Regions from separate parts of the Homo sapiens genome. Here all the other regions are linked to region 1. Evidence: promoter capture Hi-C in human tissues and cell types (Jung and others, 2019). All regions are on one chromosome and are shown on one strand. Each heading gives the region's core, a stretch centred on a gene start or on the middle of the fragment in contact. The rest is flanking DNA. Distances are from core to core; before and after follow the strand shown. Region 1 holds the start of METRN (meteorin, glial cell differentiation regulator). Region 2 holds the start of TPSG1 (tryptase gamma 1). Region 3 holds the start of NME4 (NME/NM23 nucleoside diphosphate kinase 4). Region 4 has its middle 17 kb from the start of SOX8.

What was found. Contacts are between HindIII fragments. The study calls those that stand out against the background at their distance.
Region 2: a contact is called between the fragment with the promoter of TPSG1 here and the fragment with the promoter of METRN in region 1, in 2 of the 25 tissues and cell types used here (lymphoblastoid cells and spleen).
Region 3: the fragment with the promoter of NME4 here is called in contact with the fragment with the promoter of METRN in region 1 in 2 of the 25 tissues and cell types used here (dorsolateral prefrontal cortex and spleen).
Region 4: a fragment that was not itself captured here is called in contact with the fragment with the promoter of METRN in region 1 in 1 of the 25 tissues and cell types used here (dorsolateral prefrontal cortex).

What each region holds. Positions count from the first base shown.
Region 1 is chr16:709,838-716,830 of GRCh38, reverse strand. METRN (meteorin, glial cell differentiation regulator) reads right to left here and starts at 1,713. Exons shown (of 4, transcript NM_024042.4): 1 at 1,438-1,713; 2 at 847-1,247. The coding sequence starts at 1,541. RefSeq lists enhancers at 1-304, 305-902, 903-1,500, 2,099-2,697 and silencers at 955-1,014, 1,115-1,544, 1,645-1,954, 4,842-4,971. The HindIII fragment of the contact is 3,141 bases long and covers 961-4,101 here.
Region 2 is chr16:1,219,525-1,226,517 of GRCh38, reverse strand. TPSG1 (tryptase gamma 1) reads left to right here and starts at 1,250. Exons shown (of 6, transcript NM_012467.4): 1 at 1,250-1,311; 2 at 1,890-1,916; 3 at 2,924-3,095; 4 at 3,601-3,866; 5 at 4,177-4,322; 6 at 4,422-4,867. The coding sequence starts at 1,266. The coding sequence ends at 4,730. It overlaps LOC124903621, which reads right to left and starts at 1,267. Exons shown (of 2, transcript XM_047434997.1): 1 at 957-1,267; 2 at 1-64. The coding sequence starts at 1,267. It overlaps CACNA1H (calcium voltage-gated channel subunit alpha1 H), which reads right to left. Exons shown (of 35, transcript NM_021098.3): 35 at 4,750-6,537. The coding sequence ends at 5,524. RefSeq lists a silencer at 2,212-2,398. The HindIII fragment of the contact is 15,330 bases long and covers 1-6,993 here.
Region 3 is chr16:391,456-398,448 of GRCh38, reverse strand. It overlaps NME4 (NME/NM23 nucleoside diphosphate kinase 4), which reads right to left and starts at 1,250. Exons shown (of 5, transcript NM_005009.3): 1 at 1,136-1,250. The coding sequence starts at 1,226. LOC100134368 (a long non-coding RNA gene) reads right to left here. Exons shown (of 3, transcript NR_024453.2): 3 at 5,489-6,682. RefSeq lists silencers at 620-689, 830-1,319 and an enhancer at 1,610-1,659. The HindIII fragment of the contact is 12,085 bases long and covers 1-6,993 here.
Region 4 is chr16:994,969-1,001,961 of GRCh38, reverse strand. No RefSeq gene overlaps it. Among named protein-coding and RNA genes, the nearest start is that of SOX8, 17 kb to the right of the region's middle. RefSeq lists an enhancer at 1-60. The HindIII fragment of the contact is 5,735 bases long and covers 589-6,323 here.

The sequences.
Region 1 (6,993 bases), core at 464-2,963:
GAGCAGAGCCCACGCTCAGGGCCTGATGGCACCTGGGGGTCCCAGAGAGCTACACAGCAGATGTGCACGCCCTCGGCGACACCTGTACTCAGGAAACACACTTGCAGGCGCGTACCTCCAAGGCAGGAATGCACACAGACGTGGGCCTGGGGGCCATGCCTAGCGATCAGCTGTCCTGGGCCGCCCTCCTGCACTCCCATCTGACATATGCACCCCAGCATCTGGGACCCCTCTAGTTTCCCGGATCTGAGGTCTGAAGAGCAGCAGCCCAGCTAGGGTGATAGGAAGTGGGGGCAGAGGAAGGGTGGTCTGGGGTCCCTGGCCCAGGGCCAGGGGGCAGAATAGCGAGAGCCCATCCCTTTCAGGGTCAGGCGCCAAGCTCCAGGAGAGCCAAGCAAGAGCTGGGCCTGGTGCCCTGCAGGGAGGCGAGCGGCGTCTCCATGGTGACCGGGCTGCACACTGGACTTTTGTTGGTTGGGCTGGGGGAGGGGAGAGAGGTCACCGCTGGGCCAGGGAGCCCCGGACAGCTTTGGCCGGAGGCTTCGATTCTGTCCCCACCATCTCTTCCCCCAACCGTTCAGGGACCAGAGGCCCAGGATTGCTGGGCCCGGCCTCCCCTTCCCTCCACTCTGCCCCTGCCAGCTCTTTCCAGAGATGAATCGGGAAGGGAGGGCGGGGAGGCCATCCCTCCCCAGCAGTCCCAGGCTGTGTGGCCTGACAAGCCCATCCAACCCTTGTAGCTCACTTTTTCCTTCTGCAGTGGGGCCGACAAGGCACATTCCCGCCAAGCCCAGGCAGGGTAAGACTTCGGGACTCCCACCCTGTCCCAACCAGACCGCCACTCACCGTCTACGCCGAGACCGTGGGCCTGCGGGGGCAGCTCGGGGCGCCCGTCCTCGCGCAGCTCAAAGCGGAAGGCGGCCACGCGGCGGCTGATGTCCTGGTGCGGCGTGGCCTGCAGGAAGAGGGCCCGGCGCTCGCGGGGACCCCAGCGCACGCAGCGGCCCCCTGCCGGGCCCGGGCCCTCGGCCAGCAGCAGCTCCAGGGCGCCCCCTGCGCGCTCCGCGAAGACCTGGGCGCCCGCGAAGGGCCGCACCGGCCGCAGACAGGCGATGCCGGGCCGCGCTCTGGGATCGGGGCCGCCCAGGGTCAGGCGCAGCGCCCCAGCCGGGTACAGCCACTCAACCGCGCCCTCCGCACAGGCCAGGGCCAGCTGCCCCACGCTGCCGGGCTCCTGGGTGAGGCCGCTGGGGACAGGACGGGACGGGGCGCTGAGACGGGGGCGGGTCCCCGCCCGGCGCAGCCCCCGCTCCCTCCCGAGGCCGCCTCGCGGATGGGGAAACCGGCCCAGCGCTCTGCGCGCTCCGAGGGGCGCCTGGGGGGTCCTAGCCGCAGCGCACCCCGTCCTAAGTGCGGGGACAGCCCCCCGGACCGTACCTGCCCCTCCAGCTGCAGCGCTCCTCGGAGTAGCCGGCGCGGGCAGCCGGGGCCAGGAGGCCGCAGCACAGCGCGCAGAGCAGCGCCGCGGCCGGGAACCCCATGGCACGGCGGGCGGCGTCCGGGGAGTCGGGGCTCTCACCACCGCTGCCCCGGCGGGGCGCGGGTCCGGGCGGCGGCGGGAGCAGCCGGGGGCGCCGGCCGCCCGGCCCCGGCGAAGCCCCCAAGCCCGCGGCCGCTCCGCCTGCCGCGCAGCCCCAGCGCCGGGGCCGCCTTGGAGCGGGTCGGGAAGGGGGCGGGGCCTGCGGCGTGTCGGCCAGTCGCGGCGCGGCCCGGAACTTTCCGCCAATAGCAGGCGCGGGGCGGAGCGGGGGCGGGGCCGGAGCTCGGGCGCCGCCGGAGGACTATCCCACGGTCCAAGCGCCTCGAGGGTTGGGGGGGGCCTTGGCGCGGAAGGGAGGCTCCTTGCCCGCCCCGCGCTGTGCGTCTCTCCTTCGCCGCGCCCTCACCCTGGCCTCGCCCCCCGCGCTGTCCCGATCGGAGTCCTGGAGCCTCTGATGGAGCCGAGGTTTTGATGTCCACTGGAACCTCGGGGTGGCGGTAGGGAAGGTGGCCCACCTGGTGGTTCCGCCTCGCGGGCGGCCGGGCCTGCTCCTTCCTAACACTGGGACCTGGGCCTGTTGGCCACATCCCTCCCAACCAGGTCCGGTCCTGCTGACCAGAGGCCGGTGGAGCCCCAGAGGAGAGGGGTCATGACTCCAGAGGCGGGGAAGGCCTGGCCTGGGGGCTGCGCCTTGGAGCGGGGCCAGGCCTCGGGTTTTGGTAAGGCCGTCTGCAGGAGGGGGTCCTGCTGAAGAGCGCGCAGCCCGCAGGCTTAGGCCCCTTTCCTCAGACCTAGCGGCACCCCATAGTTGCCGGATGACCGACCCCGGGCCAGACGGGGCTCCTGGAGGGGCGTGAATGGAGCAGCCACGGGCACCCCTGCAGGCCTGCAGCACGTGGAGACACAGGAGCTGGGAGGACACCCCTGGGCCACAGGAGCAGCCCCCACCAAGATGAAACAAGCAGAAACAGGCGATTCGCAAACACACTGTAGCCTCAGGCTGGAGCAGTGTGGGATTCCCAGCATCCGGGACTGCTGAGTTGGCCTGATGGGAGGAAGTGGGCAGTGGCTGGCCAGGTGGACAGGAAGAGAATGGGGGAGAGCAGACAGCCTGGGTCAAGGGCCTGAGGAAGGAGCTCTTGGCAGCCCAGTGAAACCCCAGGGCATGGGTGGTGGGTGGGGACGACAGGTCAGATCACAGAAGGCCTAAGGCACAAGCAAAGGGGTCCCACTACATACTGAACCCCTTACGGACGACAGAAGCTTTAGCCGGGGACTGCAAGGACCAGCATAGACTGTGCAGCCTGAAGATGTGAACATTCCGTCCCCTGCCCCCAAACCTCCTGCCACCCGGCGCTCGAAACTCATGGTGGACAGATGAGTTCACCAGTGGCAGTCGGACAGATGAGGCCAGATGGCTCAGTGGCAGTGGGAGGCTGGATCCCACTGACCAGGCCCTCCCTCAACCCCAGGGCCCTCCCAGGCCAAACAGGAACAAGGCGCCTACTGGGCTCGGCCAGCCCCTTGCTCTGGGCGAGGTGCAGGTCAGAAGTAGCCATCACAATCCCCAAAAGGTGGAAGACTCCCAAAGGCCTGTCTGCAGCTGAGTGGACAAGCAAGTGCAGTGGGTCCATTTTTTTTTTTTTTTTTGAGACGGAATCTCGTTCTGTCGCCCAGGCTGGAGTGCAGTGGCTCGATCTCGGCTCACTGCAACCTCTGCCTCCTGGGTTCATGCCATTCTCCTGCCTCAGCCTCCCGAGCAGCTGAGACTACAGGCGCCCGCCACCACACCCGGCTAAATTTTTGTATTTTTTCTTTTTTTAGTAGAGAGGGTGTTTCACCGTGTTAGCCAGGATGGTCTCGATCTCCTGACCTCGTGATCTGCCCGCCTTGGCCTCCCAAAGTGCTGGGATTACAGATGTGAGCCACCGCGCCCGGCCTCTTTTTTTTTTTTTTTTTTTTTTTTTTTTTTGAGATGGAGTTTCGCTCTTTGCCCAGTCTGGAGTGCAATGGCGCGATCTTGGCTCACTGCAACCTCCACCTCCTGGGTTCAAGCGATTCTCCTGCGTCAGCCTCCCGAGCAGCTGGGATTACAGGCATGTGCCATCATGCCGGCTAATTTTGTATTTTTAGTAGAGACGAGGTTTCTCCATGCTGGTCAGGCTGGTCTTGAACTCCCGACCTCAGGTGATCCGCCCACCTCAGCCTCCCAAAGTGTTGGGATTACAGGCATGAGCCACGGCACCCCCTGGCGGTGGGTCCATTATTAAGCCATAAAAAGGAATGAAGTTCTGGTCCCTTGACACCCGCTACAGCCTGGATGAGCCTGGAGGCTTATGCGCTGAGCAAAATAAGCCAGAGACAAAAGGACAAACACTGTTGGATTCCACTTCTGTGAGTCACCTTAGAGTAGTCACGGTCATGAGGACAGAAAGTGGAGCAGGGGCTGGGGAGGGGAATGAGGGATTGGAGCTTAATGGGGACAGAATTCAGGAGCTTGATTACACAACACAAATGTACTCAACAGTACGGAACTGCACACTTTAAAATGGGTAAAATGGTAGATGTTATGATGTATATCTTACAATTAAAAATAAAAATTGTCAAGGCGCAGCGGCTCCCACCTGTAATTTCAGCAGTTTGGGAGGCCAAGGCAGGGAGATCACAAGGTCGGGAGTTCGAGACCAGCCTGGCCAACATGGTGAAACCCCATCTCTACTAAAAATACAAAAATTAGCTGGACGTGGTGGCGCACGCCTGCAGTCCTAGCTACTTGGGAGGCTGAGACAGGAGAACCGCTTGAACCCGGGAGGTGGAGGTTGCAGTGAGCTGAGATCAGGCCACTGCACTCCAGCCTGGGTGACAGAGTGAGAGTCTGTCTCATAAAAATTAATTAATTAATTACATAAAAATTAAGGCCGGGTGTGGCAGCTCCTGCCTGTAATCTCAGCACTTTGGGAGGCTGAGGCAGGATGATCGCTTGACATCAGGAGTTCAAGACCAGCCTGGCCAACATGTTGAAACCCCAACTCCACTAAAACTACAAAAATTAGCTGGGTGCAGCAGCTCATGCATGTAGTCTTAGCACTTTGGGAGGCTGTGGCAGGAGGATTGCTTAAGCCCAGGAGGGTGAGGCTGCAGTGAGCTGTGATTGCACCACTGCACTCCAACCAGGGCGACAGAAGAGACCCTGTCTCAATAAAAATTAAAAAATAAATAAATAAAATATAAAAATCGTAAAGGTTAAAGGGTAGACTCGGCCTGGGGCTGAGCACATGAGGTGCTCGCAGAGGTGGGGAGAGGCACACGGGTCGGCCGCTGCAGCCACCCAGCCGTCCAGGGCTGCTGCCGCTTGGCGGTCCCCGGGTCAGCACGGTGGGCTCCAGGCGCCCTCTGGTGGCGGCGTGAGGGTCAGCCCCAGACACCCTCCTGACAGCCTGGGCCCCGGACTTCTCCCCAGGCCTCCTCCAGAGAGGGGCCAGTGTCTGTGGTTGGAGGGAGGGGTTCCTGGGGTGACCTGGTCTGGAATGGCACATGCCTGGCCCCGAGTTGACGCCTCAACCCCGGGCGTCCCTGCCTCCTCCCCAGCCTCATCTCCGGGGATCCGGTGCCAATGCAGCCACCCACAGGAGAAGCCCTGGACACACACCCCTTTTCCTCACAGCCCCCGGCCCCACCCAGGAAAGCACCTGGCATCAGTGAGTGCTGTGCTGCCTACAGGAGGGGCCTGGAAGGCCGAGTCTGTCCTCAGTTGCTATGGGTACAGGACCCGACTTGCCAGGGTGCTGGTGCTCAGTAAATACCAGCAGACTAAGTGGGGGGTGGCTGGGCGGAGGAGTGCCTGGAAGGCATCCCCAAGCTTAGGTGATGCCGTGGCTGTCTGTGCTGTTTGGGGGCCCCCTCAAGTGCCCCAAGCCCCAGACCCTTGAGTGCCCTGAAACCCCAGAAGGGGCCTCTCTCCATTTCCACCCAAGTCAGAACGCGACAGCAGCAAGACATACTCAAGTCAGACAAAAGGAAGAACTTCCCTGAGGCTTTGTTTCAGAAACCTTGGGCCTAGCGCGTGAGGCCACCCCTGGAGAGTGCAGAGTCTGGGACAATCATCTCTCCCGCCTGCGGGTCAGCCTGGCCGTGGCCAAACACAGACGCCATATCACAAGGCCCCTCAGCCCAAGGCAGGGCGGCCAGCCTCACAGCTTGTCCCGAAGCCTGAGACTTGGTTTCTGTTCCTGTCTTGCCCAGAGGGCCCTTGGAGCTGCAGCCTGAGGGGGTGCTGGGGTGGGGGCGGTCGAGACCCTGGTCACTGCCACATGGTTCCCACCTTCGGCCACTGCGTTCTCCCCCCAGACACAGGTTCCGGCCCGTGGAGGACACCAGTGCTGCATTTGCCATGAGCTGGGCCCCAGCAGTGCGTGGCACAGGCAGCCCACGTCCCGCAGGGGAGCGGCTGCGGACAGGTGGCTGCGCCACGGAGTGCCGAACAACCCGCTGGGGACACCACAGTGCCGGGCACAGAATAGCAGCTGTCACGGCCAGGGCAGGAGCTGGCTGGCTGGGGCCCTGGGGGAGCAACATCAAGGACGAGGGGAGTTGATGGGGGGGCAGGAAGGGAGCCCCAACCCTGGGGAGAAGAGGGGCAAAGGCCCTGAGGCAGACAGAACTTCGAGTAAACCAGGAACCACAGAGGGTGAGCCCTGGGGGCTCCTTGTTTGCTTGAAGCTCCATCTGCCTCAGAGCCTTTGACCTGCTGCAAAGGGGAGGCGGGTAAGGCCGGCCCCACCCAGCCCATCTGCCCTGAGGGAGTTGGGGAGTTTGGACGCACCGGTGAACAGGATCCCCCAGGAAATGGGGAGGAAGCCTAGAGAGAAGGGCCAGATCGTAGGCCAAGACCCCCGCCTGTGTCTCTGTTCACTGGCAGCGGAGCGAGGAGAGAGGTGTGGGCTGACCTGAAGCCAGCGCCTCCTGTGTCCCCAGCTGAGCCCTGCACGGGATTGGCCAAATGTGCTGCTCTGCGGCCGCCCTGCTGCCCCCTCCCTGGGTGGAGCTGGGGTCTGGGACAGTGAAGATGGCTCCCACAGCTGAGGGGCACTGGGTGCCAAGAGCCTGCCAGACCCTGGGCCACCCAGAAACATGCTCTGATAGTGCAGCTGTGAGCACTGGCCTGCGTCCCCTCTACCCAGCCGACCTATGAGGCTCAGGGTGCTTGGGGGCCCATCAAGGACATAGTCCTAGCTGCCGACTCATCCAGGCAGCCTGCACAACCCCTGGCTCCCCTCCACCGGCCACCTGCCCCCCTGCACAGGCAGGATCCGGCCTCGCCCACCCACAGGCCTGCACCTCCGGGCCCACGGCAGCAAGATTCCTATCTTGGGGATGCTTTCCTCCCTTTGCCGAGAGACCCACCCCCCCACACCTTGCCTCTCTTCAAGGAGCCGAAAATGCAGCTGCCGACT
Region 2 (6,993 bases), core at 1-2,500, 510 kb before region 1:
CGTGTGGAGCACTCTGCGGGGAGTGGCGTGCTGGGGCACAGGCAGAAAGACGGGGTCCCCAGTGCTGCAGGTGAATTGAGTTGGGACAGGTGAGGGCCCTGAAGTCCCCACCTGTGGGGACCTGGGGACAGCCCTAGAGGTCAGGACTAGAGGACCTGGTTCCATGAAGACCCTGCCCCTCAGGCTCCCTCCCCACTGGGTGACATCGCCCTGTTAGGGGCACCCTGGGCCGGGGACTCGTGGCTCAGACCCCGCTCCCTTGTGTGGGGTGGGACTGTCCTGCCTCCCCTGAGGCGCCCCCTCCAGGTGTGCGGCTGCCGTGAGGGAGGAGGGTGCCCGGCCGTGGGTGCACTGCTGGCCCCGCATGCTGGTGTTGTCCTTATTGGTCACCAGGAAAAACACTGAACCTCCAGTTCTGAGCCTTGGCTACCCCACGTGCTGGCGTGCAGGCGGCCACGTCTGTGCCTGGGAGGCCACATCCTGGTGGGTGGTCAGGCAACTCCCCCCAACCCGTGGCTGAGTTTCCCCACATCAAAGAGGGGATCCCTGACCTAGAAGGTCTCAGCTGGACCCTCCAGCCTGGCCTGTGATTTGGATCTGGGGAGGGCGGCAGGAAAGTCCCGGGCGCTGCCCAGGGCCCCTAATCAGCTGAGTCATCAGGCTGGGGCAGCCAGGACGGTTAGGAAGGGCCAACCCAGGCTGGGCCGTGAAGTGGTGCCCATCTGATCTGCCGCACGAGCACAGGACCTGCTGCCGGACGTGGGGACAGGGACTTCTCAAAGAGTGGTTGTCACGAGGGCCTGAGCTGTCTCCAAAGGGCTGCTGGGCCTTGAGTTGGGACCCTCCTGAAGAACCCCCAGGACTGGGCTCCCAGAGGATGAAGGAGAGGGGGTGGCGTGCCCCGAGGGAACCAGGGAGTAATTTTTGGAGGGGGCGGCACTCAGAGGAACACTCACCCCTCCCTCAGCCCTGGCCCCGGAGCAGAGACAAGGTGAGAAGTACTTTTGCCTTCTGTCCTTCCCCGCTTTCCCTTGACGGAGCCGGCCACTTGGTGCCAGGGCTGTGGCGTCCACACAGGGATAAATGGAGGTGACGACCCTTCTCTGAGGTGCAGAAGGAACAGGTGGGGCCGTCTGTGGAGCTCCGGCCTCCTCCTCCGTCCTCCCGCCCTGCCTGACAGCAGGTGTGTGGCCACCCCTATCCCCCACGCCCAGCAGGTCCAAGGGTCAGGCTGGCCCTCCTTCTCCCTACAGTGGGCAGACACCATGGCCCTTGGGGCCTGTGGCCTCCTGCTGCTCCTGGCTGTGCCCGGTGGGTGACCTGGCCTGGGTGTGGGGATGGGGGGGCATCTGCTTCCTGCCTGGACCCCTGATGGGGGTGAAACTGGGGGCTGGTCTGAGACGGAGAAACATGCTGAGTCCCCACCCTGTGGGGCCCCGTGTCTCCTCTGAAGAGACTGCACCCCTGGCTGGAGGCCCAGCTGTCCGTGCTGGGGAGAGGCAGGAGGGATGTGCGGGTGGGAGTTGGGGGTGCAGGAGTTGGCAGGGCGGGTGGTAGTTGGGGGTGCGGGTGGGAGTTGGGGGTGCCAGGAGTCCCAGGCCCTAGAACACTGGTGATTTCTTTCCTGAGCAGGACCTGGAGGGCGGGGAGGAGGCCCAGGCCTGAGGCCAAGCTCCCGGCCTCCAGCTGCCGTTTATGGCCTGTGGCTTGTCCCACCCAGCCCTGGGCCAGTGAGACAGCAGTTGACCCAGCCTCACCAGGCCGGGCCCCTCTGCTCAGGACCAGGCCCCACCCCAGTGCCGCCCTGAGGCCTGGCAGGGGCCTCTGGAGCCCGCACACCCCTCTCCTTGGCAGCCCCCTCCATCCTGGGCCCTTCGTCTTTCCCACAGGTGTGTCCCTCAGGACTTTGCAGCCAGGTACGTCTCTGACAGGTGTGGGGTGTGGGGGAGGGTGCAGGCAAGGCCTGGCAGGAGGGCCTCGGTGACCCTCTCCTTCCCTGGGGTCCCAATGGGGGCCCGGGGAGGTCATAGTTTGTCGCCGTGGTTTCTGCTCGCATCTCTCGGTTGAGTGGGGCTGGTCGGGGTGTGCTGCAGGGCTGTCTCCCCCACCACCACTGTAGTCAGTCTGTACCTTGGGAGATGCTCTGAGGCCATGAAACAACCTGGCCCTCCTCGAACTTTCTCCCCACAGCGTCCCCACCGTGGCCCTGGAACCAGCTGGGGGCTTTGCCGTGTGGGAGAGCCGGTGCCCCACCCCACACCCGCTGCCTATCTATAAACATCTCTGTCTGTCTACATCCCAGCTTCCCTTCCATTCAGCCCAGTGGCCACACTCCATCACCAGCACAATTATCCAGCTCAGGCAGACCCAGGTGTGGCCAGTGGGTCTCCAGCTGACTTCCTCTTAATTTCTTCTTAACTTACTGAGGTGAAGTTTACAGAAGATAAAGTTACATTATCAAGCGTCCAATTCAGAGGCCCCGAGCACCTTGGACAGTGCTGTCTGCCCCCCGCCCCCCGAATTTTATCCAGCTTCGAATATCTCCACCACCCCTGAAGGAAAACCGGGGCCCACTAGGCAGCCACCCCCAGCACCCCGGGCCTTCTCGGGGGCTCCACCGTTCTGAGCCCCTTTCTAGCCGCCTAGGGGCCCTCTGCAGCCTTTCCACCGCCTCCGGGAGCCCTGGTTAGTTTGTGGAGCATGGTGCTTAGAAAGGACGACCTGAGCCCCAGGCGCGCTCACTGCTCCTGAGACGTCATTTCTGCTGCACCCACGATGCTTCTGGGGAGAGTCTGGCAGACGAGAGAGCTGAAGAGCAAAGTCCCCAAGAAGGCAGGGAGGTGTGGTCAGGGAAGGCTTCATGGAGGAAGTGCAGTGGGTTTCTTGGGATCCCCACCAGGCACCCCTTCCTCCTTCGACTTAGGGTGTGGCCGGCCGCAGGTTTCGGATGCAGGCGGCCGGATCGTGGGGGGTCACGCTGCCCCGGCCGGCGCATGGCCATGGCAGGCCAGCCTCCGCCTGCGGAGGGTGCACGTGTGCGGCGGGTCACTGCTCAGCCCCCAGTGGGTGCTCACAGCTGCCCACTGCTTCTCCGGGTGAGTGTCCGGGTGGGCAGGGGCAGTCTCAATGTCCAGGCCCCAGTGGGGCATGCGCCAGCGCAGAGGCCTCCACTTGGTCTTGACTCACTCCGAGGCTTGGGAACTCTGAGCCTACTTCCTTCCAATGGAAAGGGAGGAGCTGGTTGCCCACCTTCTGTGAGGTTCTGCAGCTCTTTGCTCACCTCTAGGGATGGACAGCTCCCTCCCTCCTTCCCTCCCCTCGGTCTCTTCACGTGGAGCTGAGCTTGCAATCTGCCTCCTGACCAGCCCCTGCTGGTGTCGGGCATGCTGCTGGCTTTTCCAGGGGCTGGCAGGAACCCCAAGGTGCTGCCGTGGTCCTTGGGCCCTGCAGGGTGAGGCCACTGCCCAGGCTTTCTGCGTCCCAAGCCTAGGAGGGAAGAGCTGGGCTTCGGATGCCTGCAAGGGTAGGGTCTGGGCGGGGCCGACACTGACCTCCAGCCTCCGCAGCTGGCCCCTCTCACCCAGCCACCTTCCCTCCCAGGTCCCTGAACTCATCCGACTACCAGGTGCACCTGGGGGAACTGGAGATCACTCTGTCTCCCCACTTCTCCACCGTGAGGCAGATCATCCTGCACTCCAGCCCCTCAGGACAGCCGGGGACCAGCGGGGACATCGCCCTGGTGGAGCTCAGTGTCCCCGTGACCCTCTCCAGCCGGATCCTGCCCGTCTGCCTCCCGGAGGCCTCAGATGACTTCTGCCCTGGGATCCGGTGCTGGGTGACCGGCTGGGGCTATACGCGGGAGGGAGGTGAGGAGCCCCCGTGGGGATGCTGGGATGGAGGAAGGCAAGGGCGGCAGGAAGAGAGCTGGCTTGAGGGATGCTGATGCTACCACCTGCTCCTGGTGGCTTCCACACCCAGCCAAGGCCGCCCCTATCGGCTGTCCCTTTTCAAAGCCTGTCGTGTGGATCCAAAGCAGCAGCCAAACGTCAGATCACAACCCACGTGCCGTGACGAGGGTCGTGGTGGCATGGGACTTGTGTCTGGCAAGGTCTCCCATCCCCCCAGTGCAGGGCCTGGTGCCCCAACCTTCTCTGAAGCCTGTTCCCCCCACCCCAGAGCCTCTGCCACCCCCGTACAGCCTGCGGGAGGTGAAAGTCTCCGTGGTGGACACAGAGACCTGCCGCCGGGACTATCCCGGCCCCGGGGGCAGCATCCTTCAGCCCGACATGCTGTGTGCCCGGGGCCCCGGGGATGCCTGCCAGGTGAGCCTGCCAGGCCGTGACAGAGGATGGGGGCGGCTGAAGCCCAGGGAGGGGCTCCCCATCTTCTCGGCTCCCAATGCTCGCCTTCTCTGTCCTCAGGACGACTCCGGGGGGCCTCTGGTCTGCCAGGTGAACGGTGCCTGGGTGCAGGCTGGCACTGTGAGCTGGGGTGAGGGCTGCGGCCGCCCCAACAGGCCGGGAGTCTACACTCGTGTCCCTGCCTACGTGAACTGGATCCGCCGCCACATCACAGCATCAGGGGGCTCAGAGTCTGGGTACCCCAGGCTCCCCCTCCTGGCTGGCTTCTTCCTCCCCGGCCTCTTCCTTCTGCTAGTCTCCTGTGTCCTGCTGGCCAAGTGCCTGCTGCACCCATCTGCGGATGGTACTCCCTTCCCCGCCCCTGACTGATGGCAGGAATCCAAGTGCATTTCTTAAATAAGTTACTATTTATTCCGCTCCGCCCCCTCCCTCTCCCTTGAGAAGCTGAGTCTTCTGCATCAGATTATTGCAACATTTAACCTGAATTTAAAAGCACACGAAACAAAGGTGTCAATGGGAATCTCGCGGCCAACGCCCCCAGATGTAGGGGAGGCCTGATTCGCATCGGGGCCGGGCGCGTTACTCCATGGGGTCGGCCCCTTAGTGAGGTGTCACCTCTCCCAGAGTCACAGGACGCTTCTGGGAAGGCCCGAGCGGAACGGAAAGGGTGGTGGCTGGAAGGGGAGGGTGGTGAGGGCGTGACAGGCGGACAAGAACTCAGACTGTGAGTGAAGGTGACATTGGGCCGCGGTGGCTGCAACCTGCCGCCGGCAAGGGCACAGGGCCCCCAGCGAGTGTCCTGTAACAACGCGGGGCCTGAAAGGACGCAACCTGGTACCTTCCCCTCTCTGGCGGGTGCCCGGTCTTCGTCCCACAGACGCGGCTTCTCTCCTGACGGGAGGCTGACCCAGTTGCCCGCACAGCCTCGGCTGGTAGCAAAACTCGGAGAAACCCGAACCAGAACGGACGGAGGCTCGTGGGGCCCGGCAGCTACTCCTGCTTCGCTGGGCAGAGAACCAGGGCCTGGGCCGTCATCCTCCCCGGGCCTTTCTGCTCACGACGGGACCCAAGTCAGGGTCCATGCAGGGTTCTGCCTGGGCCTCCACCCCAGCGGGGCCCCCAGACCCCAGGGCCAAAGCCGTGGGCGGCACCAAGCCCCGAGCTACACGGGGTCATCTGCACCACCCCCTGGGGCAGGGGTGGCTGAGGGGGACCCTGGTTTCTCCAGAGGACACTGGGGGACTGTGAGGTACAGCCCCCGCCTCTTCTCTGGGGGGTCACCGACGGGCATGGGAGGCTCTGATTCTGGGGGTTCCAGGGGCACTATGGCCCCTGAAGAGGAAGCTCTGGATTCTGGGGTCACACTGTGGCTACCGTCCAAGAAAGGGTCTCCACTGGGGACCCCGAGGTCCAGCGGCTCAAAGGCAAAGCTGGGGACGGTCAGGTGCTCAGCCCGGCAGGAGGCCTGGCCCCAGCGCTCCCCCTTGGCTGCAGGGTCCCCCCCGGCGCCTGAGCCCTCTGTGGGCTCCAGGGAGTCCCTGTGAGGCGTGGCCTCACAGGACGGGGTCCTGCGCCTCAGTGTGGTGCTGCCGCCCTCTGCCGCGGAGGGCCGCGCAGAGCCCTCGTCCTCCGCAGGGGGTTCCACCGAGATGCAGGGGGGGCTCATCTTCTTCTTTCTGCGCGCACCCAGAGCGGGCTCGGCCTCAGGGCCCCAGGCCTTCGCCTCCCCAGGCTCCCCGCTGCCCAGCTCCGCCGAGGGCCGCCACTGCTCGTCTGCCCGGCCCGGCTTGTCCAGGAAGCCCTGAGCATCCACGCTGTAGAGCCTGCGCAGGTCCCGCTCGCCGCCGGCCACCGGAGAGGCTTCGGGGCCATGGGGCTCGGCTGTGGGCTGCCAGGGGCAGGCGGAGCTGGTGATGTGGCTGACCTCCTCGTCGGCTGGGTCCGAGGCCTCGGCCTCCTCTCCGCCTGGGGCCGCCGGCCGGCTGGAGACGCAGCGCTGTCCGAAGGTATGCTTACGAGTGCGGACGCTGGCGGGCCGTGGGGAGCGTGGTGGGGACTGCAGGGAGCCCCCCTGGGTCACCGGCCTCACCGGGGTTTTCTCACCAGGCTCTGCAGGATCCAGGGTGTCCCTAGGGCTGTCAATCTTCCCTTCCAAGGAATCGGTGTGCACAGCCTCCTGTGGGGGCGTAGAGTCAAAGTGAGGGGCGGGGCCCTGGGAGAGCCCTGTCAGTGGCCAGGGCTCGGAGACCCCTCACCATCCAGGTACTGGAGAGGCCAAACTGGGCAGGTCCCCTGGGTGGCTCCTGACCCTCGAGATGGGGCTGGAAGCCGCTGGTGTGGACGTCCTAGTCTCACTCCTGACCTGTGAGGCTCCCGGGGAAAGCCTGTACCCGCTGCTCTGTGGGCAGAGATGCCATGGCCCCCAGGGGCACAGAGCTGAGGCTGAGGCCACCTCCCCACCCCTGGACATCAGCAGCCCAGCTGGGCACCCCCAGGATGGGGCTCTCCTAACTGCTCCTGTGCGGTACAGGCGTCTTGTACTGGGCAGCAAGAGGTAGGAAAGGGCAGGAAGAGGAGCTGAGGCTGCAGGTGGGCAAGGCTGGGACATCTGAACACAAGCCAGGACTGAAAA
Region 3 (6,993 bases), core at 1-2,500, 320 kb after region 1:
AGCCCACCCTGTGTCTGAGGTGAATGAGTGGCAGGGAACCAGGGAGAAACACACTTTCCCCACCAGGTGAGCCCTGGAAACACGGACAAAAAGGGGCCTGAAGATTGAAGAGGGAAGGTAGCAGGGTTCTGTCCGAGCCAGGAGACGGGGCCTGTGCTGCTGTGGAGTTTCAAGGCCTGTCGCTTCCAGACCCAGGGTCAGCGCTGAGCTCCGCCCCAGCCGTCCTCCTCTGGAGGGGACGCTGCCAGGGAAACAGAAGACGTCCTCACCTTCCTATAGTCCCAGGCTGCTCCAGAGCCAAGCTACCCTCCGGCATCGGGTCCCTGGTTTCCAGAGGAGCCCAGACCCTGTATGTCCCACAGAATCTGGACAGAGCCAAAGGGGCTCCGCCAGGCCAGGAGGAAAAGTTAACCCCAGCAGGCGGCTGAAGCCCACGGGAGGAAGACCCCCTGGTTGGTTTGTTCCCCCAAAACCCAGTTTGCAGGGCGCCTTGTGTAGCCTGGGGCTCTGCTGCGGCTGGTGCGGGCATTGCAGGCGGCGGCTCACTTTTCAGAGCCGATGGAGGGAGCCCTGGGACATGGATCGTCCTGTGAGGTGGCAGCTGGGGGGGCCGGGCAGCGGCGGGGCCGGGGACTTGGGGCCTGACGTCCCAGTCAGATTCTGGCCTAACTTGGCCTTCAGCGAACGCCCCAGCGGAGCGGCTCCCCCCACCCCCACCCCCCGACTCCCTCACCCCCCCACACCCCCACCCCCACCCCCCGACTCCCTCACCCCCCCACACCCCCACCCCCACCCCGGCCGGGAGACCCCCTCCCCGCCCAGTGCTGCAGCCGGCCTCTGCCTTCCTTGCGCTCCCGGGCCCTCGGTCGCCCCGGACCCGCCCAGGCTGCCAACTCGCCGGGCGCCTGCAGCCTGGGGCCTGGGGAGGCGAGAAGGAGCCGCAGAGCCGGACGGGCACTGGAGGGGCGTGCGGGTGCGAGCCGGCGCCTTCCCCAACTCGGACGGACCCCGCAGCCCGCGCCCCGAGGCCTCTGGGGGAGTCGGACCCCAGCCCGCACGTGCGCGCACAAAGGCCGAGCGGCGCGCGCCCCTTCCTCCCCTCCGCGTCCCCGCCGGGGCGCGCGGCCCCACTCACCCGAGCCGTGGCGCACTAGCAGGCTCGGGCCCGGGGCCCGCGGGCCGCAGCGCAGCCCCCGCAGCGCGGAGCGCCAGAAGAGGCCGCCCATGACGCCCGGCCCGCGGGCCGCTGTGAGCGCGAGGAGCGGGCGCGGAGGGCGGTGCCAGCCCGAGACCCGCCCCCGCCCGCCCGGGAGCCCCCCGCCGCCCCGGAGCCCCCCGCCGCCCCGGACCCCCGTGGCCCGGCGCTCACGGGGGAAATGTTCAACGCCAATTTCTGTTAAAAATCAGAAGAAAAAACAAAATAATAATGAATCCTTCTCGAATTGCATTCGTCTTTACACCGACGCAACCGTTAACTATCGTTTTAACGCTTTCCCACGGAGGAAGGCCCACTCGGGAGGCTGAGGCAGGAGGATCGCGTGAGCCCAGGAGATTGAGGCTGCAGTGAGCTGTGACTGCACCGCTGCACTCCAGCCTGAGCAATAGAGCAAGACTCTGTCTCAAAAATAAATTCACGGACCAAAAGGAGGTCTAGAAGCCCTGGTCTGAGCCCCCTCCAATGGAGGGTGAAATTCCCACGTGAGCCCCAGGGCGGGAGAAGGAGGCGCTCCGGAGACGCTGACTCTGCGGCCAGGACGAGTAGGCGGGACTACAGACCCGCGCCACCACAACCAGCTAATATTTTAATTTTTTGTAGAGATGGGGCCTCCCTATGTTGCCCATGCTGGTCTCAAACTCCTGGGATCAAGAAATCCTCCTGCCTTGGCTTCCCAAGGTGCTGGGATTACAGATGTGAGCCTGGTCTGTGAATTTGAATGGGGAAAAATCCGACCTTTATTCTCAAATGGCCTCTGATGTGACTGCATTCCTCTAATTCATTCAATTGCGGATATAAGGAAGAAGCCACATTCATAGTTGCAGGGCCTGTGACTTTGTCACCAACAGAATTCACAGGTACGGTAATATTTGGGTAGATAGCACAGCATGCTACTATTTGAAATGGTTAGGTCTCCCACTGCTAGAACTTACTTAATGAGTCTTGAAAAAGCCTGTTCTTTTTGCTGCTATTGTGAATGGAATTGTTTTCTTATTTGAATTGTCCATTGCAAGTGTATAACAGACAATTGAGGTTTGTTTGTTTTCAGACAGAGTGTCGCTCTTGTTGCCCAGGCTGGAGTGCAATAATGGCATATCTCTGCTCACTGCAGCCTCCGCCTCCCAGGTTCAAGCAGTTATCCTGCCTCAGGCTCCCGAGTAGATGGAATTACAGGAGCTTGCCACCACACCTGGCTGGTGTTTTTTTTTATTTTTAGTAGAGACGGGGTTTCGCCATGTTGGCCAGGCTGGTCTCAAACTCGTGGCCTCAGGTGATCCACCCGCCTTGGCCTCCCAAAGGGCTGGGATTACAGGCGTGAGCCACCACGCCTGGCCAACAATTGAGCTTTGTGTATTGATCTTGTATCCTGCAAGCCTTCCAAATGCATTTATTAGTTCTAATAGTTTTTAATTAATTCCTTGGGAATTTCTTTGTATAAGATTGTGTCATATGGAGCGGGGCACACTGGCTCATGTCTGTAATCCCAGCACTTTGGGAGCCCGAGGCGAGCGGATCACGAGGTCAGGAGTTCAAGACCAGCCTGGTCAACGTGGTGAAACCCCGTCTCTACTAAAAATACAAAAATTAGCTGGACATGGTGGTGCATGCCTGTAATCCCAGCTACTCAGGAGGCTGAGGCAGGAGAATGGCTTGAACCCAGGAGGTGGAGCTCACAATGAGCCGAGAGCATGCCACTGCACTCCAGCCTGGGCAACAGAGCAAGACTCTGTCTCAAAAAAAAAAAAAAAAAGAAAAGAAAAAACATCATGTCATATGGGAATAGAGACGGTTTCAGTTCTTTCTTTCCAATCTGAATGCCTTTTATTTTATTTTCTTGTCTAGTTGCTCTGACTAGAATTTGCAGTACTATGGTATAAAGAAGTGACTTTCTTTCTTTTTAGAGGCTGGACTCTTGCTCAGGCCTATTATCCCAACAATTTGGGAAGCTGAGGCAGGAGGATCACATAAGCCCAGGAGTTTGAGACTAGCCAGGGCAATATAGCAAGACCCTGTCTCTTGAAAAAAAATAGTAAATAAACAAAAAATATATGAGTGAAGTGTATAGTATGTCAATTGTATCCCAATAAAGCTATTGCAAAAAGGAAAAAGCAGATATTACTATAGCGTACTCTGTTTTTTTTTTGAGACGAAGTCTCACTCTGTCACCCAGGTTGGAGTGCAGTGGCGCGATCTCGGCTCACTGCAAGCTCCGCCTCCCGGGTTCACGCCATCCTCCTGCCTCAGCCTCCAGCTGGGACTATAGGCGCCTGCCACCACGCCTGGCTAATTTTTTTTTTTTTTTGTATTTTTAGTAGAGACGGGGTTTCACCATGTTAGCCAGGATGGTCTCGATCTCCTGACCTTGTGATCTGCCCGCCTCAGCCTCCCAAAGTGCTGGGATTACAGGCATGAGCCACCGCGCCCGGCCACTATATCGTACATTTTTTAATGTTTTATTTTTGTTTTTTTAGCAACAGGGTCTCGTTCTGTCACCTGGGCTGGAGTGCAGTGGTGCAGTCATAGCTCAACTGCAGCCTTCACCTCCCAGCCTCAAGCGATCCTCCTGCCTCAGCCTCCCCAGTAACTAGGAAAACAGGCCTGAGCCACCGCACTTGGCCTAAAATATTTTGTTTTTGTTTTTGTTTTTGTTTTTGAGATGGAGTCTCACTCTGTTGCCAGGCTGGAGTGCAGTGGTGTAATCCTGGCTCACTGCAACCTCCGCCTCCCAATTCAAGCGATTCTCCTGCCTCAGCCTCCTGAGTAGCTGAGATTACAGGCACGCGCCACCACACCCGGCTAATTTTTGTTTTTTAGTAGAGATGGGGTTTCACCATGTTGGCCAGGATGGTCTCGATCTCTTGACCTTGTGATCAACCCGCCTTGGCCTCCCAAAGTGATGGGATTACGGGTGTGAGCCACCACGCCCCGCTGCCTAAAATATTTTGTTTGTTTGTTGGTGAGACATCGTCTTACTCTGTTGCCCAGGCTGGAGTGCAAGGGCATGATCTCAGCTCACTGCAACCCCCACCTCCTGGGTTCAAGCAATTCTCCTGCCTCAGCCTCCCGAGTAGCTGGGATTACAGGTGCTCGCCACCACACCCAGCTAATTTTTTGTATTCTTAGTATAGACAGGGTTTCGCCATGTTGGCCAGTCTGGTCTCGAACTCCTGACCTCAGGCGATACACCCACCGCAGCTTCCTAAAGTGCTGGGATTACAGGTGTGAGCCACTGCGCCCGGCCTGGCCTACAATATTTTGATAATTTATTTCAGTATAGTTTTTTATATTTTTATTTCCTTGTATTTTATTTTGCACATTAAAAACATGCTGAGACTGGGCGCAGTGGCTCGCGCCTGTCATCCCAGCACTTTAGGAAGCTGCGGTGGGTGTATCGCCTGAGGTCAGGAGTTCGAGACCAGACTGGCCGACATGGCGAAACCCTGTCTATACTAAAAATACAAAAAATTAGCTGGGTGTGGTGGCATGCACCTGTAATCCCAGCTACTCGGGAGGCTGAGGCAGGAGAATCCCTTGAACCCGGGAGGCAGAGGTTGCAGTGAGCTGAGATCGTGCCCTTGCACTCCAGCCTGGGTGACAGAACAAGACTCCATCTTAAAAAAAGAAAAAAAAAATTATGCTGGGCCGGACGAGGTGGCTCATGCCTGTCATCGCAGCACTTTGGGAGGCTGAGGCGGGTGGATCACCTGAGGTTGGGAGTTTGAGACCAGCCTGACCAACATGGAGAAACCCTGTCTCTACTAAAAATATAAAATTAGCCGGGCCTGGTGGCAGGTGCCTGTAATCCGAGCTACTTGGGAGGCTGAGGCAGGAGAATTGCTTGACCCTGGGAGGCGGAGGTTGCTGTGAGCTGAGATTGTGTTATGGCACTGCAGGCTGGTAGACAGAGCAAGACTCTGTCTCAATAAATAAATAAATAAATAACTCTCTTGGCCAGGCGTGATGGGATGGTTCACACCTGTACTCTTAGCACTGTGGGAGGCAGAGGTTGGAGGATCACTTGAGGCCAGGAGTTTGAGACCAGCCTGGGAAACATAGTGAAACCTGTCTCTACAAAAAAATAAAAAATTAGCGGGGCGTGTTGGTGTGCGCCTGTATTTCCAGCTACCGGGAAGGCTGAGGTGGGAAGATTGCTTGAGCCCAAGAGGTCCAGGCTGGATTGAGCTGTGATCGCACCACTGCACTCAGCCTGGGCAACAGAATGAGACCCTGTCTCAAAACAAAACAAAAAAGAACTCTCGTAACTCAACAAGAAAAGCAAAACCCAGTTCATTTCCTTGTGTAATGCCTACCCCTTGAGTGTGGACCATGCCTGGTGACTGACTTCTGACACAGCAAAAGAGACGGAGTGTCACTTTCACAATCTGGTCACCAAAGACTGCAGCTGCTGCTGCTCCGCCACCTCCTGGGAGAAGCAGCTCCCCTGTTGTGAGCAGCCCTGTGCGGAGGCCCCCATGACAAGGAACTGATGTTTCTGGCCAAAAGCAACATAGGTGGGCTTAGAAGTGAATCTGCAGGAGGCTGAGGCAGGAGGATTGCTGGAGCCCAGGAGGTTGATGCTGCAGTGAGCAGTGATTGTGCCACTGCACTCCAGGCTGGACAACAGAGCGAGATCCCATCTCTTAAAAAAAAAAAAAAAAAGTGGGCGTGGTGCAGTGGCTCACACCTGTAATCCCAGCACCTAGCTAGGCCAAGGTGGGCAGATCACTTGAGGTCAGGAGTTTGAGACCAGCCCAGCCAACATGATGAAACCCCGTCTCTACCAAAAATACAAAAATTAGCCTGGTGGGATGTGACACGCCTGTAGTCCCAGCTACTCGGGAGGCTGAGGCACTAGAATCGCTTGAACTTGGGAAGCAGAGGGAACAGTGAGCTGAGACTGTTCAACTGCACTCCAGGCTGGGCAACAGGGCGAGACCCGGTCTGGAAAAAAAAACAAGTACATCCCCCCTTAGTCAAGCCTTGGGGTAACCTCAGCGTGGCTGACACCTTGACCACAGCCTGTGAGAGCCTCTGACTCAGAGGCTCCCTGCTAAGCCCCACCCAGCCTCCTGTCCACAGAATCTGGAAGATAATGAACGTGTGCTGCTTACATCATGAAGTTGTGGGGTATTTGTTATGCAGCATAGATGACTAATACAAACAGCAGCCAGGGAGGTGCAGAGTGGCATCACCTCCAACCAGAGCTGGGCTTCAGGGGCTCTGGTGGTCCATGGGGCTGTACTGCCGCTCAGAGGCCAGCGCTGGAACTGCGTCTGGGTCTCACTGCCATCCAAAGCATGGACTGCCTATCTGGTTTCACTCTTGGAGTGGCACCACTCAGAGGGCCCCAGAGCCTGACTGAGGATGAGGTGGAGTGAGGAATCAGGGCTGAGCACGGCCGTGGATTTCTGGAACATTCCTATGGATGTGCTGGATGGTCCTTGTAGAAGGTGCTCAAAAAGATACCTGCAGGGTGGGACAGCGGGGGGATCAGGACAGCTGAATTCTGTCCCAGCCCTACGACTGTTACACCCATGTAGGGAGGGCATTGCCCTACATGGAGGTCTCTCACCTGTTTTATTTTTTTAAATATTTATTTATTTATTTATTTATTTGGACGGAGTCTCGCTCTGTCGCCCAGGCTGGAGTGCAATGGCATGATCTTGGCTTATTGCGAGCTCTGCCTCCTAGGTTCAAATGATTCTCCTGCCTCAGCCTCCCCAGTAGCGGGGACTATCGGCGCCCGCCACCACATCCGGCTAATTTTTTGTATTTTT
Region 4 (6,993 bases), core at 2,207-4,706, 280 kb before region 1:
CGGGCCAGGGACAGCCATCGGCCCCTCCGTGGACACCCAGGGTTCCCTGGAGGAGAAATCATACAGGGCAGGTGGTGAGAACTTGAACTTCACCTCCACGGTGGCTTCCTCACGGGGCGATGTGAGGCTTGGGTGAGGTGACGCGGCATGTTTCAGGCTGAACGGTGGCCACAGCTGACCCTGGGAATCTGTGACTCTGGCTTGGTTGGGAAATGGAGTCTTTGCAGATGTAATTGATCAAAAGATCTTGCAGTGGGGTCATCCTGGGTTATCTGGGTGGGACCTAAATCCAGCGATGAGTGTCCTCATAGAAGCAGAGGAGGAGACAGACATGCAGAGGAGACAGCCGCGTGAAGCCGGGACAGAGGTTGGAGCGATGTGGCCACAAGCCAAGGGACACCTGGAGCCACCAGGAGCTGGAATAGGCAGGAAGGATCTTCCTCTGGAGTCTCATTGGGGAGCGTGGCCCTGCCCAAGCCTTGATCTCAGACTTTTGGCCTGCAGACCTGTGAGAGGACAGGTTTGTTTTCTAAACCACTCGGCTCATGGCACTTTACTTGGGCAGCCATGTGGCACTGCCACACCCCCGCAGCCAGGCCCTCAGCTCCAGGCATCTGGAGCTGCCTACCCCGCGGTAAATGCTGAGCTGAGGAGGCATCTCCAAGCCACCTGGGCCCCAGCTCTGGGAGGCCCTCAGCACTCCAGCCAGGTGCTCATAGCTGCCGTGTCCCGGGGGCACCGAGGCAGGGCCCTACCCCACTGAATGGGAGGGGCAGCACCTCCAGACCCGAAAGGCCAGCGCCTGGGGAGCTGAACAGGGGAGACCCACCGTCCACACGTCTGCCTGGGACTCTCCTGGCTTTAGCCCTGAACATCCCTCAGCTTGGGGACCCCTGGGCCTAACCCCGACAGGCTGATCCTCCAGTGGATACTCCGCAACCTCCAGGCTTCACTTCGCAGCCCCCATATCTGCCCCTCACACCCAGCAGTTTTTCCTAGAGGCGCCACTGGGCAGCCTGCACGTCGGGGCCCAGGATGCCGTGGCCAGCAGTGGTTGGGATTTCACGGACTTTAGACAGCTGCCAGTGTCAGGGTCCCGGGGGCTTTTCCCGGCCGCCACCCCCCCCCGCCAAATGGAGCCATCAGCTCCCTCTCCCCAGTCATGGAGACCGCACTGCTGTCCTTCCTTCCAGGCCAGGAGGAGCCCCCGCCATGTGATGAGCTGGGACGTGTGTCCACCCCGTGAAACCTGCTCTGCACGGCCTGGTCTTCAGGAGAGGAGCAACCCAGATGGGCTGAGTGAGGAGCCCAGGACCCACAGCCACTGCACAGAGCCGGGGGCACCTGTTCCCCGCACCCCCGCTCTGCTTGCCCTCCCACACCCCCAACCTGGCTTCCCACCGACTTTCCTGCTGGCATTCCAGGGAAAATCAAATCTCCTGGGGAGAAACGGCTTCTGTGTCCAAATGAGCTTTCCGAGTCCAGGTGCAAATGGTTTGGGGAGCTCCAGGAGCAAAAATACGGTTTCAATTTTCCAAAGCAGGCCGAGATCCCCGAGTTTAACCCACATGGCCGAGAAGCGAGGTTCCCACCCAGACCCAGGTCATCACCCAGCCGAGGCCACGGGGAGTGCGCTGTGCACATGGCATCGCCAGGGCCTGGGGCTCCTGGCTGGAGGTCAGGGAACTGGGGTCCCTGTCCCCGGTCCCATGGCCGACAGCACTTCTTCCTCTGGCCGCGGCTGGAGAACCAGCTGTCCAGGCCACTTGTCAAGGTCACTAAGAAACTTGGGTGGGAGAAGGAATTCATCCCAAACTCAGGAACCTTCCTGGGGTCGGGAGACACGGCGCTCAGTGACCTCCCAACTGGTACTTCCCAGGGACGGGACGCGGCCCTCACAGGGGGCGGCAGGTGCAGCCTCAGCTCTGCAGCTACCGGCCCCACCTCGGTGTTGTCTGAGGTTAAATGGAGTCCCAGCCTCGTGCATCTTGATTTGAGGGCCCTGAGCCTGCGGGCATCAGGGAGGGCCAGGGAAGCACCAGCAGGTGTGCCAAAGTGTGGGCACCCCCAGGGGGCAAAGGCCCTGCCACCCTCCCAGGCCAGGCTCTCAGAAGCCCCAGGGAGCCCACAGTGCCCGGACCTGCCTGGCCCCTGCTGGCTGAGCTGCCCCGGAAGAGCCTCCCTGCTCTTGGGAATCCCTGCAGGTCCACAGAGCCCTACCCCACATCGGCCTCTGACTGCTGGCTCATGACTGCTGGCTCATGACTGCTGGCTCCAGCAGCTCGAGGGGACCTGTCCTGAGCTCAGCCCAGGGGCCAGGACATGACTAGTGCGTCTCCAGACTCTGGCCCAAAACCCAGCCTCCATCCACCCCTCAGTGGCTTGAAGCAGCTCAGCTGGTCATGGGGGCTGGTGAGCAGCTCCGTGTGCCTGGCATGAGGCACCAGGGTCAGTTGTGACCTCACGGAGGAACAGCCTGGGGATGGGGAAACTGGGACCCACGCAGTCCCACCCCTCACAGTGATTACTGACAGTGACCATGGCCTTGAAGGAGACCATCAGAGGGTTCTGTCTGGGCCAGTTTAGGAGGGCTTCCAGGAGGAGGCAGCATGTGAGCCGAGAGAGGCATGGGCAGGAGAGGCAGGTTCAGGGCCAAGGACAGTCCAGGGCCCAGGGTAGTGGACACCACTCTCCCTCCTCCCAGGAAGAGAAATGTCCCCTTCAGGCAGCAGTTTCTAGAAAGATCTGGGTGGAGCCGGCAGGGACCACCAGAAGCTGCTCCACCGGGAGCTGCCCCACCTGGGGTCCCTCCACCTGTCCTCTACCACATGCCAGGGGCAGGCACGTGATCCGACTCGGTTCCCATCCGGCCCCTTGGGAACCAGCGAATGCCCGTGCCGGCTTGCTCCGTGGAACCAGCTGGCTTTCCCTCTTTCCCCCTTCCTCTTTCTTTCTGAAATCTGGATGCAGTTTGCTGCGTGGCCTCCCTCCTCAGTCCTGGCCAGGTGGTTTACCTGGGCTCCTATGCCACCTGTCAGTTTCCTCCCTGCCTGCTTCCCCACCAGCACCGGCTGCCCAGGCCTCCGGGCCTTCCTGCCGTCCTCCTTAGAGAGAAGAACCTCCTTGGGCCTTGGAGAACCCCCACGCTGGGTGTGCTTGGCCATCCGCACAAACGGGCTGGGCCGGGGCCCTCACGCTGCTGCTCGCTGGATTCCTTCTGCCCTGCACCTACCCAGGAGGCAGTCCCCAAATCTAGTTCACTGCTTCCAACTGCTCCCACTGTGTGGCACCTGGTGTGCACCTCCTGCCTGCTCCAGAGCTCCCAGGGCCTCCTGTGGGCACCGAGGGCACCTATGCCCTTCCCCTTTTCCCCCCATGGGTCCTGCGAGGCTGGCATCACTGCAGGTGAGGACCTGCCAGGGTCATGGCCTGGAACCCTGATCTGGAGTCTGAGCCCTGTCCAGGGGTTCTTGACTTGGGCCCAGCACTGCCCTGGCACCCAGCAGCCTTCACGCCTCCCGTGGGCCTCTCCAGCTGGCTCTGGGCGCCACCTGCCTGGTTCCAGCCACAGACTCCTCTCCTGCTGTCTGTCCCGCTGCCCTCTGACACGCCATGCAGGGGGCCCAGGGCACCCGTTTCCCAGACACAGTAACGGTGTCTCAGCCAGCTCCTGGCAGGCCTGGCCCGAGCCAGCCAGCAGGGACCACCAGGAGCTGCCCCAGCCAGGGTCCCTCCACCCATCCGACTCGAAGCAGAGCCCCTTCTCCCACAGCATTTTCAGAGCTTAGGCTGGGGGATCGGGGGTGCGTTTTGCAGACATGAGCTTCACAGATTTAAAATAAAGGAGGATTCGGGTGGGGACTCTCTGGGGGCTTCCTGCAAACCAGCCCCCGCGCAGGCTGTGTGGTAACCGAGGGCACCGTGGCAGTGAGGCAGGAGCAGTCGGCGCCCACACGCCGGATCTGCCGCACCCGCTGCCACCCACAGTCCTCTGGCGAGCTCTCAGATGGGAGGAACAGGTGACAGGGAGCCCTCCCCAGGGGAGCCGCGCCCCGAACCTCACAGGCGGGCGTGTGGAGCGGGAGGCGGGGGTGGGGTGAGGCCTCCAGACCCCATGGAAGATTGAAATGTCATCTGTCTCGTTTTCAAAGGAAGCTCAGCGGGCTCCATCCCCGCCTTTTGCAAGAAGATGACTCTTCTGCCAGATGGGAGGGGACGCCCACCTCCGCCACGCCAGCTTCTGTCTTCCTCCCGGTGACGGCACCACAGCTCCCCCGGCACCGCGTACATTCCTGAAGTGGTGAGGCCCGGGGACGGCCTGTGACCTGCCTCCTTCCCGGGAGGGGAGCTGGGCGGGTATTTAATGAAAGGAAATGCTCCAGCCGGCTGCTTCCTGCTCAGGTTGCCCAGCCTCCCTGCCGCTCCTGCCGCTGGCAACCTCCCGCGCTGGACACCGTGGAGGAGGCGGGCAGGCTCAGCACCCAGGGCCCCTGCAGGCACCGGCAGCTCTCAGAGATGCCTGGTCACTGGAGGTGCTTATAGGACCCGGCCTGGGCGGCCATCCGTTCCTGCAGACCCTCCCTCGGGGGCCCAGGGAGAAGCAGGGGCTGCTCTGAGCCACAGACCTTCCTCTTCCCTAAAATGCCTGAGGATGCTTCCCTGAAGGGGCCAGTGTGGGACTGGGGGCTGACAGGGCACAGGAGATGCTGCCTGGGTGTGTCCAGTGGGGAGACAGAGCTCTGGGGGTCTGCACCCAACAGCCTCCTCCCGTTCAGAGACAGCACGCTCCCTTCTCCTCCCTGAGAGGGAGGAAGCCCCATGCAGGGGTGGAGGTTTTGGTGTGGCCCCAGGCGTGCTGCGGCCTTGGCAGGGCAGCAGACCCTGGCCCCGTCCCCACCACTCCTCTTCCTGGGCTTGGGCCCCGACTGTGAGGGGTGGACTGTGGGTAAATCACCAAGAAGTGGAGTCAGGGGCCCTCTTCTGTTAAATGGGGTGAAAACTCGCACCAGCCCCATGAGCCCTCCATGCCTTTGTTGAGATCAAGCTGGAGGAGGACCAAGCACCCAGACGCCCTCCCACATATCATCACTGTCACCGTCACAGCCACCACTCCCTTCCTTTCCCCTTTGCCCCCGCCCCAGCCCTGACCCTGGGGTGCTCAGGGCCTCATTTCAGAACAGGTGAGCACCAAAGCCCTGACAGAGGCTAAGTCTCCTCTTTCTAACAGAATCTTCTTCCCTGGCCAAGACATCCCCTGGTACTTAGAGAGATGAGAAACTCACTGTGCAGGGGAATCGGGTGGCTGCGAGCCGCCTCACCTGCTCCCTTCCTCTTCACTCCTGCAGGTGCCCCCACGATGCCTCGGAAAGTAACCATGGCCGCCCTCATGGCAGCTCACCTGTTTTGGGGTATTTTATTCGCATCTGCAGAGTAGAGAGGAACATTCCAGAATGTGAAGACTTCAGAACGTGGACCCTGGGTTCTGGAGAGCAGGTGGCCTGACTTTTAGCTGGGAGCTGGGGGGATACACCCACAACTCAGTGGGAGGACCCCCAGCCGCTCTGGAGACCTGGCTTTCCAGTAGGTCTGCATAGCTCTGAATTGATTTTGGAAGAAACCGCCCTGAACTGTTTTTCTCACTGCCCTGTCTGGAAAAAAAAAACATCACCTTGTAACTTTATGTAAATGAGCCACATAGCATGCTCCTTTGCAGGAGGGGCTCAGCATGCCTGCCTGGTTCCTCCTCGTTACTGAGCTGGATCTCAGAATGGGAAAAGACCATAGTTTATCTACCTGCTCTTGAGGGGTGTGTGGAAAGTTCCCTGTTTGAGATCTACAAAGAACCTTCTCTCCTGGTGAACACAAGCGTGCATTTCACACGGGTGGACTTCCAGCAGCAGAATTGCTGGGTCATAGGTCACTGGCATGCCAGCTCTTGGTGGGACCACAAACCATCTTTGGAGTGGTTGTGCAATAGCAATACAAGCTTCTATCAGGAGGATGAGGCCCCGCTTGCCCATGTCCTCACCAGGACTGGATGTCTTCCCTCTGAACTTCAGCCATCCTAGTGGGTGCTGCATCTTTTAGAGAAATGAGCTTGACACATACTTCTACCATGTCTTGATAACTCAAGGTCACAGTCATTAGCATTAACCACAGTCCTAATGATGTACTCAAGCTGAGCAGGCAGGTGTCCCATGTCATGCACTCAGGGCCCCCCAGTTAGCAATGACTCCACCTGCACAGAACCCACAATAGCTGCCAGATGACAGATCTGCCTAGGGCTCCTGAGGTCTCTGCCATGCTTACCTCCCTGTTAGCTACCCCTTTGCCCTTCCTGCCAGTGGGTCTCCTGTAGAAATTGTTCTCACCATTGGAGCAATTTAAAGAGAGCGATGATGACCCTGAGCTTCCTGCTGCTGCCCAGCCTGTTTCCGTTACCACTGAGCCTTCATTTGGTTCAATGCTCTGTTCAATGCTCTGAAATATCTCAGAGACTTGAATCTGTTCTGCCTGGAGCAAACATGCCCTGCTTCACCTTCATTCATTCATTCACTCATTCACTGATTTGTTCATTCAGCAAATACTCATTGAGTATCTGGTCTGTGTCCAGGATAATTTAGGTTGTGGGTGAAGGCCAAGGACAGTTACGGCCCCAAGCTTGTTGAGCTCGTAAGGCCACCCAGGGACACATGGCTCATGTTGTGAGCCATGGCTCATGTTCTACCCCCACTCCACCATCCACACCACAAAGCATGTTCTTCTCCACAGATGGGCACGGGCAGTGTGGAACCTTCCATACCTGCCCACTAGATGATCACCCATCCTGCTTCTCCCAGGACTGAGGGGCTTCCCAGGACATGGGACTTTCACTGCAGAAACTGGAAATGTCCAGGCAATCCAGGATGAGTTTGGCACCCTACTGCTCACTGAGTCCTGGGACCCACAGCTGTGAGAGGGCTGCATATGGAACCGGTGGTTGTGCCTGCCTCA